2 separate regions of the Homo sapiens genome follow, and region 2 is linked to region 1. The links are contacts of gene promoters, found by promoter capture Hi-C in human tissues and cell types (Jung and others, 2019). All regions are on one chromosome and are shown on one strand. Each heading gives the region's core, a stretch centred on a gene start or on the middle of the fragment in contact. The rest is flanking DNA. Distances are from core to core; before and after follow the strand shown. Region 1 holds the start of HMOX2 (heme oxygenase 2). Region 2 overlaps TRAP1 (TNF receptor associated protein 1).

The links. Contacts are between HindIII fragments. The study calls those that stand out against the background at their distance.
Region 2: a contact is called between a fragment that was not itself captured here and the fragment with the promoter of HMOX2 in region 1, in 1 of the 25 tissues and cell types used here (dorsolateral prefrontal cortex).

Annotation. Positions count from the first base shown.
Region 1 is chr16:4,475,079-4,479,807 of GRCh38, reverse strand. HMOX2 (heme oxygenase 2) reads right to left here and starts at 3,410. Exons shown (of 6, transcript NM_002134.4): 1 at 3,321-3,410. It overlaps LOC124903636 (a long non-coding RNA gene), which reads left to right. Exons shown (of 3, transcript XR_007064964.1): 3 at 247-544. It also overlaps a transcript of NMRAL1 not described here. RefSeq lists an enhancer at 3,113-3,614. The HindIII fragment of the contact is 17,527 bases long and covers 1-4,729 here.
Region 2 is chr16:3,694,679-3,699,398 of GRCh38, reverse strand. The region is part of intron 1 of TRAP1 (TNF receptor associated protein 1); the gene reads left to right. Among named protein-coding and RNA genes, the nearest start is that of TRAP1, 20 kb to the left of the region's middle. RefSeq lists an enhancer at 2,679-3,179. The HindIII fragment of the contact is 6,313 bases long and covers 1-4,720 here.

The sequences.
Region 1 (4,729 bases), core at 2,161-4,660:
GAGATTGTGCCACCACACTCCAGCCTGGGTGACAGAGCAAGACTGTCTCAAAAAAAAAAAAAAAAAAAAAAAAAAAAAAAATAGAATAAGAAAAAGGCAGGCTGGGTACAAGATACTAGTCTGTTATGCCATTCTTCCCCACAGCCTTTTTAAAGTTACTGAGAACTATGACAGTAATTAGGCCTATAATACTCCTGGGAAGGAAACGAATCTATCTGTGAAACAAAAATTAATTTTTTCCCTAAGCTGAGTGAAGAGAATATCCACTTTGTTGGCTTCTGACATACACACTGACAGCACAGTTCACCAGACAACAATCACTCTTCTGGCGTCCCTTTCCCCAGGTATTCTATTCGCTTACTGCTCTATCTTCCCTGCCAGTCCACTCCCTCCTCTTTCCAGCCTGTGCCTTAGACAAGGACCCCAAACAAGGATCACCTGGGAAACTCCAAAAAACAGATTCCTAGTCATAATCCCAATTTTACCAAAAAAGAAGCGTTTGGAAACCCCTTAGATCGACAAGCAGCATCCAAAGACACCAAAAACTTAGGCTCATCAAGTATTAACTTCCTGCCTCAGCCTCCCAAGTAGCTGAGATTACAGGTATGTGCTAGCATCCTACTTATTGTTCACTCTGATAGAATTTTTTTTTCTTTGAGATGAAGTTTTGCTCTTGTCGCCCAGGCTGGAGTGCAATGGCATGATCTTGGCTCACTGAAACCTCTGCCTCCCAGGTTCAAGCAATTCTCCTTGCTCAGCCTCCCGAGTAGCTGGGATTACAGGCTACTTTTTGCAAGGCTAATTTTTGTATTTTTAGTAGAGACGGGGTTTCACAATGTTAGCCAGGCTGGTCTCGAACTCCTGACCTCAGGTGATCCACCCGCCTTGGTCTCCCAAAGTGCTGGGATTACAGGCGTGAGCCACCGCACCCAGTCTAGGTCAAGTTTTTCATCTCTTTCCTTTCCAAGGAGTTAAAGCTGAATTTCAAATTTTACAGTGAAATACACAATTCTAATTTTCTTTCTTTCTTTTTTTTTTTTTTGAGATGCAGTTTTGCTCCTGTTGCCCAGGCTGGAATGCAGTGGCACAATCTTGGCTCATCGCAACCTCTGCCTCCCAGGTTCAAGTGATTCTCCTGCCTCGGCCTCCCAAGTAGCTCGGATTACAGGCACACACCACCATGCCCAGCTAATTTTTGTATTATTATTATTTTTTTCTTAGTAGAGATGGGGTTTTTCCATGTTGGTCAGGCTGGTCTCTATCTCCCGACCTCAGGTGATCCGCCCATCTCGGCCTCCCAAAGTGCTGGGATCACAAGCATGAGCCACTGCACCGGGCCCACAATTCTAATTTTCAAATATATCTTCCTCCTGGAGGAGTGATATTCCAGTTTTGGGTGCAATCCTGATGTAGAGCCCAACTGTCCTGTGAAGAGAGTCAGCTGTTAAAAGGAAACCAAAAAATCAAGGTAGCTCTAGCTGTCCAATTTTACAAGTTTTCAACAGACTTGATGAGGGGTGAGCTAAAGGCGGTCAATGCTTTATTGTCTGTAACTCACTGGCACTGGCATTTCTAGAGTTGCTCACGTTCCCCCTTTTGGTGACTCACAGCACTTCAACATGTTGCCACAGCCAAGGAAAAAAGGAAATCAAGTCAGACAATGGAGGAATCACAGGATTTCCCTCTTCACATCCCCAGGTAGATGAGGTCATTCAATGAGTGTGTTTCCAAGGCTCCACAAATTCCCACACCCTCACCAGTGTTTAAACCTGAATGTTTTATCTGATAACTTTTTCTAATTTCACCAAGTAAGCTTATATATGTCTTAACTGTGAACTCCTGATAAGCACAAATTTTGTCTTGTGATAATTTATTTTTTTCTTTTTTGAGACAGGGTCTCACTCTGTCACCCAGGCTGGAGTGCAGTGATGCGATCTCAGCTCACTGCAATCTCCACTTCGTGGGCTCAAGTGATCCTCCAACCTCAAACTCCCCAGTAGCTGGGATTACAGACACGCGCCACCCCGCCCGTTTAACTTTTTTGTATTTTTAGTAGAGACGGGGTTTCACCATGTTGGCCAGGCTGATCTCGAACTCCTGACCTCAGGTGATCCGCCTGCCTCGGCCTCCCAAAGTGCTGGGATTACAGGAGTGAGCCACTGCACCGGCCAGCGTTTCTTTCTTCAATCACACTCCACCTTGTCTGGTTTGTAGCGCCATCAACAAAACACAGTACGTAAGGATGGACAGCCACAGGCCACGACAACCGGCTCATCAGAAGCGATTTTTTTTTTTTTTTTTTTTTTTTTTAGATGGAGTCTTGCTCTGTCGCCCAGGCTGGAGTGCAATGGCGTGATCTCGGCTCACTGCAACCTCTGCCTCCCGGGTTCAAGCGATTCTCCTGCCTCAGCCTCCTAAGTAGCTGGAGCTACAGGCTCACGTTACCATGCCCGGCTGATTTTTGTATTTTTAGTAGAGACGGGGTTTCACTATGTTGGCCAGGCTGGTCTCGGACTCCTGACCTCAAGCAATCCGCCCGCCCTGGCCTCCCAAAGTGCTGGAATTACAGGCGTGAGCCACCGACCCGGCCCAGACGCGATTTAAATGGCATGACACAGGCAGGCCTCGTGCAAAGACTGCAAGGAGGTCCCGGCAGCTTTTGCAGGGCAATTAATCCACCCAGAGCACTGCGCTCAGAAAGTAATAGGTAAACCCGCGTCCGGACTAACCGGCTGCCCCCACACTTGATCCCTCCCAGTCCGACTCTGCTCCAGGGCGTACCAGGGTTCACTCGTGAAGTCACGACACCCACTCAAGGGGCACTTCCTATAGAGATAAGGGCATTAGAGGAAGGGCAGAGCCCCGGTCAATGCCAACAGCCCGGGAAACAGCCAAGCCGGGCTCCAATCTCTGCCGGCATCCCCTGTCTGCACCGCCGACGCCCCCAGCTACGACCCCGGGGGTCACCTCGCCCAGCATAGCCGTGACGCTGGGAGAGGGTGGGCCCAACGGGGACGCCAAAGAGAGCCATTCAGGCCTCCCCGCGCCCCCGGGGAGACGACTTCTGGAGAGCGGCGTCCGCGGTTTCGCCCTCCCCTGACAGCCCCTCCACGCCCTTCTTCGTCCTTCTGCCCGGCCTCACCCAGCTTCCGGCCGCCCCCGGCCGGGTCTCCCCTCAGACCGGCGCAGGGGACCCAAAGGGCTGTGGCCCGGCCAAGCCCAGGTCCGAAGGCCTGGACCGAGGCAGGGCCCGCGAAGGACGCAGCGCGGTCCGAGAAGCCGGGCGGAAGGAAGGCCCCGGGAGGGCGCGGACAGCTCACCTGCCGCAGGTCGCTGTCGCCTGTCCGCCAGCCTCCAGTCAGCGTGCCCGTCAGCGACTCCCTCAGGCGCCGCAGTCCCTGCAGCCCAGCGGACTGGCGCGAGGCCGGCGCAACGTGGGCACGCAGCGCGGGGCGGGGCCTAGAGATGACACGCCCCTTGTAGCTGACACGCCCTTGCCGGGGGCGGGAAGCGGAGTATGTGGCTTTCCCCAGGTCTCTGGAGGTTGCAGGCTCAGGCTCTGCTCAGCGGGGTAAGTAGGCGTGCTTCGGCAGGAACACTAGTGTTCACAAGAGCCGAGGTGTGTGAGGGTGCCTCAGGGTTGAGCACTTTTCTTCCCCAGTGTGGTTTAATCCTTGTACATCCACTCAGTGATGTAAGAAATAGGGTTGTCAACCGTGGCACCACCCACTTGGTCACTTGCCAATGCAATCTGCGAAACTGAGTCTCAACTCTGACACCTCGGTTACCAGTCTTGTATCTGATCTCCCTGTTGCATTATTCGCATTCTTCAAACAGCGGCCAGAATGACAGAATGATTTTTCTTTTTTTGAGACCGAGTTTTGCTCGTCGCCCAGGCTGGAGTGCAATGACGTGATCTCGGCTCACTGCAACCCCCTTCTCCCGGGTTCAAGCGATTCTCCTGCCTTAACCTCCCGAATAGCTGGGATTACAAGCGCCTGCCACCACGCCCGGCTAATTTTTGTATTTTTAGTAGAGACGGGGGTTTCACCATGTTGGCCAGGCTGGTCTCGAACTCCTGAGCTCAGGTGATCCACCCGCCTCGGCCTCCCAAATCACTGCAATTACAGGCCACCGCACCCAGCCCAGAGTCATTTTTTAGTTTTACTGAACACAAAGAAATTACTGAAATCGTGGGCCGGGTGTGGTGGCTCATGTCTGTAATCCCAGCACTTTGGGAGCCTGAGGCGGGAAGATCACTTGAGGTCAGCAGTTCGAGACCAGCCTGGCCAGCATGTTGAAACCCCGTCTCTACCAAAAATACAAAAAAATTTTAGCCGGGCATGGTGGCTCCTGCCTGTAATCCCAGCTACTCAGGAAACTGAGGCAGGAGAATCACTTGAACCCAAGAGGCGGAAGTTGCAGTGAGCCAAGATCGCACCACCACTGCACTCCAGCCTGGGCCACAGAGCAAGACTCCACCTTGAAAACAAAAAACAAAAACAAAAAAAAACTGAAATCAGTGCAAGTAGCAGCAACTTCAGAAGTGAGTTAGGGCTGGGCACGGTGGCTCCCACCTGTACTCCCAGCACTTTGGGAGGCTGAGGTGGGTGGATCACTTTAAGTCAGGAGTTCGAGACCTGCCTGGTCAACCTGGTGAAACCCCGTCTCTACTAAAAAATACAAAAATTAGCCGGGCTTGGTGGCACATGCTTGTAATCCCAGCTAC
Region 2 (4,720 bases), core at 342-2,841, 780 kb after region 1:
TCCCAAAGTGCTGGGATTATGGTGTGAGCCACTGCGCCTGGCCAGTATAAAATTTTTTTAAATGGGCAGCATAAAAAGTTAAGTGCAGTGAACTCATAGGAAGAGATTATTGTGAACTGCTGGGGCCAGGGAGGCCTGAATGGGAGAGAGGGCCTGCAGCCAGGCCCTGCAGCAACTCGGATGGGAAGGAGTCCCAGCTACTGAGACTGCAGCTGCAGAGTGGAGGAGCTGCATGGGCACTGGCAGTAGTGGGTAGGGATGTGGGGGGTGGAAGGGGAGGGGTGTGTGGTGTCACATTCAAACTATCAGTGCTTCCCATTTTGTGCGACCCCAAACCACCAGATAGTTTAACAGTAAGATCTTGTAGCCTGACATTGAGGTTTGTGGTTTTTCCTTTAGGGTGTAGGAGAAACACAAAGACGGAAATTGTACAGCTAGCGTGTTTGGTATCTGGTTCAGGCAGATTTATTCCTCTAATGGTTTATTTTTTTTTTAATTTTTAATTTTTTTTTTGAGACAGGGCCTGGCTGCATCTCCCACCCTGAAATGCAGTGGCGTGATCTTGGCTCACTGCAACCTCTGCCTTGCAGGCTCAAGTGATCCTCCCAAGTAGCTGAGACTACAGGCATGCACCACCACACCTGGCTGTTTTTTTGTAGAGATGGGGTTTTGCCATGTTACCCAGGCTAATTTCAAACTCCTGAGCTGAAGCGACCCCCCGGCCTTGGCCTCCCAAAGTGCTGGGATTACAGGCATGAGCCACTGCACCTGAGTTAGTGATTAAAAGTTGTTGTAGAAGCCGGGCGCGGTGGCTCACGCCTGTAATCCCAGCACTTTGGGAGGCTGAGGCGGGCAGATCACGAGGTCAGGAGATCAAGACCATCCTGGCTAACACGGTGAAACCCCATCTCTACTAAAAATACAAAAAATTAGCCGGGCATGGTGGCGGGCGCCTGTAGTCTTGGGAGGCTGAGGCAGGAGAATGGCATGAATCCGGGAGGCGGAGCTTGCAGTGAGCCGAGATGGCGCCCTGCACTGCAGCCTGGGCAACAGAGTGAGACTCTAAAAAAAAAAAAAAAAGTTGTTGTGGAAAGTTTACATAACCTGAAATCAAATCTGCTTTTAAGAATGCTGTCAATTCAATTAATGTAATCTTGGCGTTATGATACTAAGTCTTGCAATTCTGGCTGGAAATATAGATTTCTTATTTTTTTCTTTTTCCCAATTGTGAGGACTTCTATATACTCCTCCCATAATGAATATTATATTAAATCCTTTCAAAAATATAGGCTGGGTGTAGTGGTTTGTGCCTGTAATCCCAGCACTTTGGGAGACTGAGGCAGACGGATCACGAGGTCAGGAGTTCGAGACCATCCTGGCCAACATGGTGAAACCCTGTCTCTACTTAAAAAAGAAAAACAAAAAAACAAAAAAACACAAAAGTTAGCCGGGCATGGTGGTGCACACCTGCAATCCCAGCTACTTGGGAGGCTGAGGCAGGAGAATTGCTTGAACCTGGGAGGCAGAGGTTGCAGTGAGCCGAGATCACGCCATTTCACTCCAGCTCTGGGCAACAGAGCAAGACCTTCTCGAGGAAAAAAAAAAAAAATTCTGCATATTAATTGGGGAAAAACCAAAAAGACTAGAAAAATGAAACATGGGGAAATCATGTTTAATCTTAGAGTGAGGAAGGCTTTTACAACCAAAAGACTAATTTCCTTTTTTTTTTTTTTTTGAGACAGAGTCTTGCTCTGTTGCCCAGGGTGGAGTGCAGTGGCGCCATCTCAGCTCGCTGCAAACTCCGTCTCCCGGGTTCATGCCATTCTCCTGCCTCAGCCTCCCAAGTAGCTGGGACTACAGGCGCCCACCACTACGCCTGGCTAATTTTTTGTATTTTTAGTAGAGACGGGGTTTCACCGTGTTAGCCAGGATGGTCTCAATCTCCTGACCTCGTGATCCTCCCGCCTCGGCCTCCCAAAGTGCTGGGATTACAGGTGTGAGCCACCGCTCCTGGCGACTAATTTCCTTAATATATAAAAAGCTCTTACAAATCAATAAGAAGAAGATTTAAAATGTAGTAGAAAAATTATCAGAGGATACCAACAGTCCCTTAACAAAAAAGGAAATAGGAAATATTTAAAAATACGGGACAGTGCTCAGTTTTGCTTATAATAAGAGAAATGTAAGTGAAAACTGCAGTGAAAATTTTATCTGACCAATAGGCAAAGATCCAAGAGTTTCATCTCAACACTGACTTGGCAGGAATGTAGGATGATATGCACTTTAGTACATTGCTGTGGGAACGTAAACTGATAGGATCTCTGTGGAGTGTGACTTGGCAGTATCTACCACTGCTTCAAATACATAACCTTAGGCTGGGCGTGGTGTCTTACGGCTCTAATCCCAGCGCTTGGGAGGCAGAGGCCGGGGGATCACTTGAGCTCAGGAGTTTGAGACCAGCCTGGGCAACATGGTGAATCCCTGTCTCTACAGAAAACACAAAAATTAGCCGGGTATGGTGGCATGAGCCTGTAGTCTCAGCTACTCGGAAGGTTGAGGTGGGAGGATCACTTGAATCCGGAGGGTTGAGGCTGCTGTGAGCCAAGATCACTCTACTGCACTTCAGCCTGGGCGACAGAGTGAGACCCAGTCAAAAAAAAAAAGAAAAAAAAAATTAGCTAGGAGTGGTAATACACGGCCTATAGTCCCAGCTACTCAGGAGGCTGAGGTGGGAGGATCACCTGAGCCCGGGAAGGTCGAGGCTGCAGTGAGCTGTGATTGTGCCATTGTGATCCAGCCTGGGCAACAGAGTGAGACCCTGTCTCAAAATAGTAGTAACTTACACCAGCCAGTTATTGCTGTGGTGTTTCCTGATGGTGTGCTTTCTGTTTTCTGCCATTCCTTGTGTTTATTCATTGGAATTCTGCTGTGATGAAGAGCTGCTGCTCCTCCTCTGTTTAAGTGTGCACCGATGTTTGCTTGATTTGCCGGGTCACAGCTTACAATCCATTATTGTCGTTCGTTATTTTGCCGCACAGATTGTCCTAGATTCTGCCACTGGGAGCCCTTCTGGCTGGGCTGTGTGTTCTCCTGACACACCCCGTCCTTTCTCGTCCTTCTGCACACCACTGGGTGTCCTAGGCTCCTCTGTGTGCTCCGCAGGGATCTCTGGTTCCTGTTTTTGGAGAGAGGTATTCACAAACCAAGATCTGGCTGCCAGGTAGGGTGACCAGCCGTCCTAGTTTGCCAGGACAAAGGCTTTCCCTGGGACGTGGGACTTTAGAGTGCTGAAACTGGAACAGCTTTTGGACTTTGCTCTCTGTAGCCTAAGTGGGGGGTCATCGCGCCTGGGCCCTGTCACGCGTCAGTGGACAGAGCTGGGAAATGTGTGTGTGTAAATGTTCCGGTATTGATTTCTGCATCCAGTCTGTACACATGGCAAAGGTTGTGAGCCTGTACTGATGCCTGTACCTCCAGTGCCGCCCCGCAGGGTTTATTCCTGCCCCTTCCTTATCAGTGACTTTTCTTCAACTGTGAGGACCCCAACTCAGTAGCCACAATCAGCTTTTCCGCTTGATCTTGGCACATGCGTAAATCGGGCTCAGACCTGCTGACTCCGCAGGGGACACATCTCCTGCCCGAGCCTGGTGATGGTGTGCTGTCCTCTGAGGTTAGTTTTACAGTAACAGTCAAAGTGCTATTTTCTGAAGTCTCTTAGGTTAGTTCTTCTTTCAGAGTGGTGATGTCATCGTCACAGCTCTGCATATTTGCTGTTTGTATTTCATTTTGTGTTCATGTGCGCCCTGTTTTGTTTTCACGGTTTCTTTTTCTTTTTCTTTTTCTTTTCTTTTTTTTTTTTTTTCGAGACAGAGTCTCACTCTGTCGCCAAGTCTGGAGTACAGTGGTGCGACCTCGGCTCACTGCAACCTCCACCTCCTGTGTTCGAGCAGTCCTTCCACCTCGGCCTCCCGAGTAGCTGATAACTAGAAGTGCGCCACCACGTCTGGCTAAGTAATGGTTTGTTTTTTGAGTATGAGAAACCTGACCATGGTTCTAAGAGAGACATACGAAAAGATGTATGTGGAAGTGTCATGTTCCCTCAGCTCTGCCAGCCCTCTCCCCTTCCCGCTTTCTTTGCATTCTCTGTACATATGCTGGTTGGGGGTTGAATTGTGTCTCCCCACGAAAGATGTTGAAGTCCCAGCTCTCAGTACCTGTGAATGTGACCATATTTGGAAATAGGGTCTTTGCAGGTGATCAAGTTAAGATGAGTTCACTTGGGTGGGCCCTAATCCAGTATGACTGTGTCCTTATAAAATGGGGACATTTGAACAGACAGACATGTGTAGAGGGAGAAGGGCAGACGTCCTGAAGGGAAGACACAGGGAGAAGATGACCACCCACAAGCCAAGCAACGCCAGAGGCTGCAGAGGCTGGAAGAGGCGCAAACAGACCCTCCCTCCCAGCCTCAGGAGGAACCAGCCCTAGTGGCACCTTGATCTTGGACTTCTTGCTTCCAGGACTGTGAGAGAATAAGTGTCTGTTACTGTAAGCTACCGGGTTTGTGCCACGGGGAGTTTAATACACACCTCCTGTAGGTAACCAAGCTGTGGGGTTTGAAGGCCGGGTACAGTGGCTCATACCTGTCATCCTAGTGCTTTAAGAGGCCAAAGTGGGAGGATTACTTGAGTCCAGGAGTTCAAGACCAGGCTGGGCAACA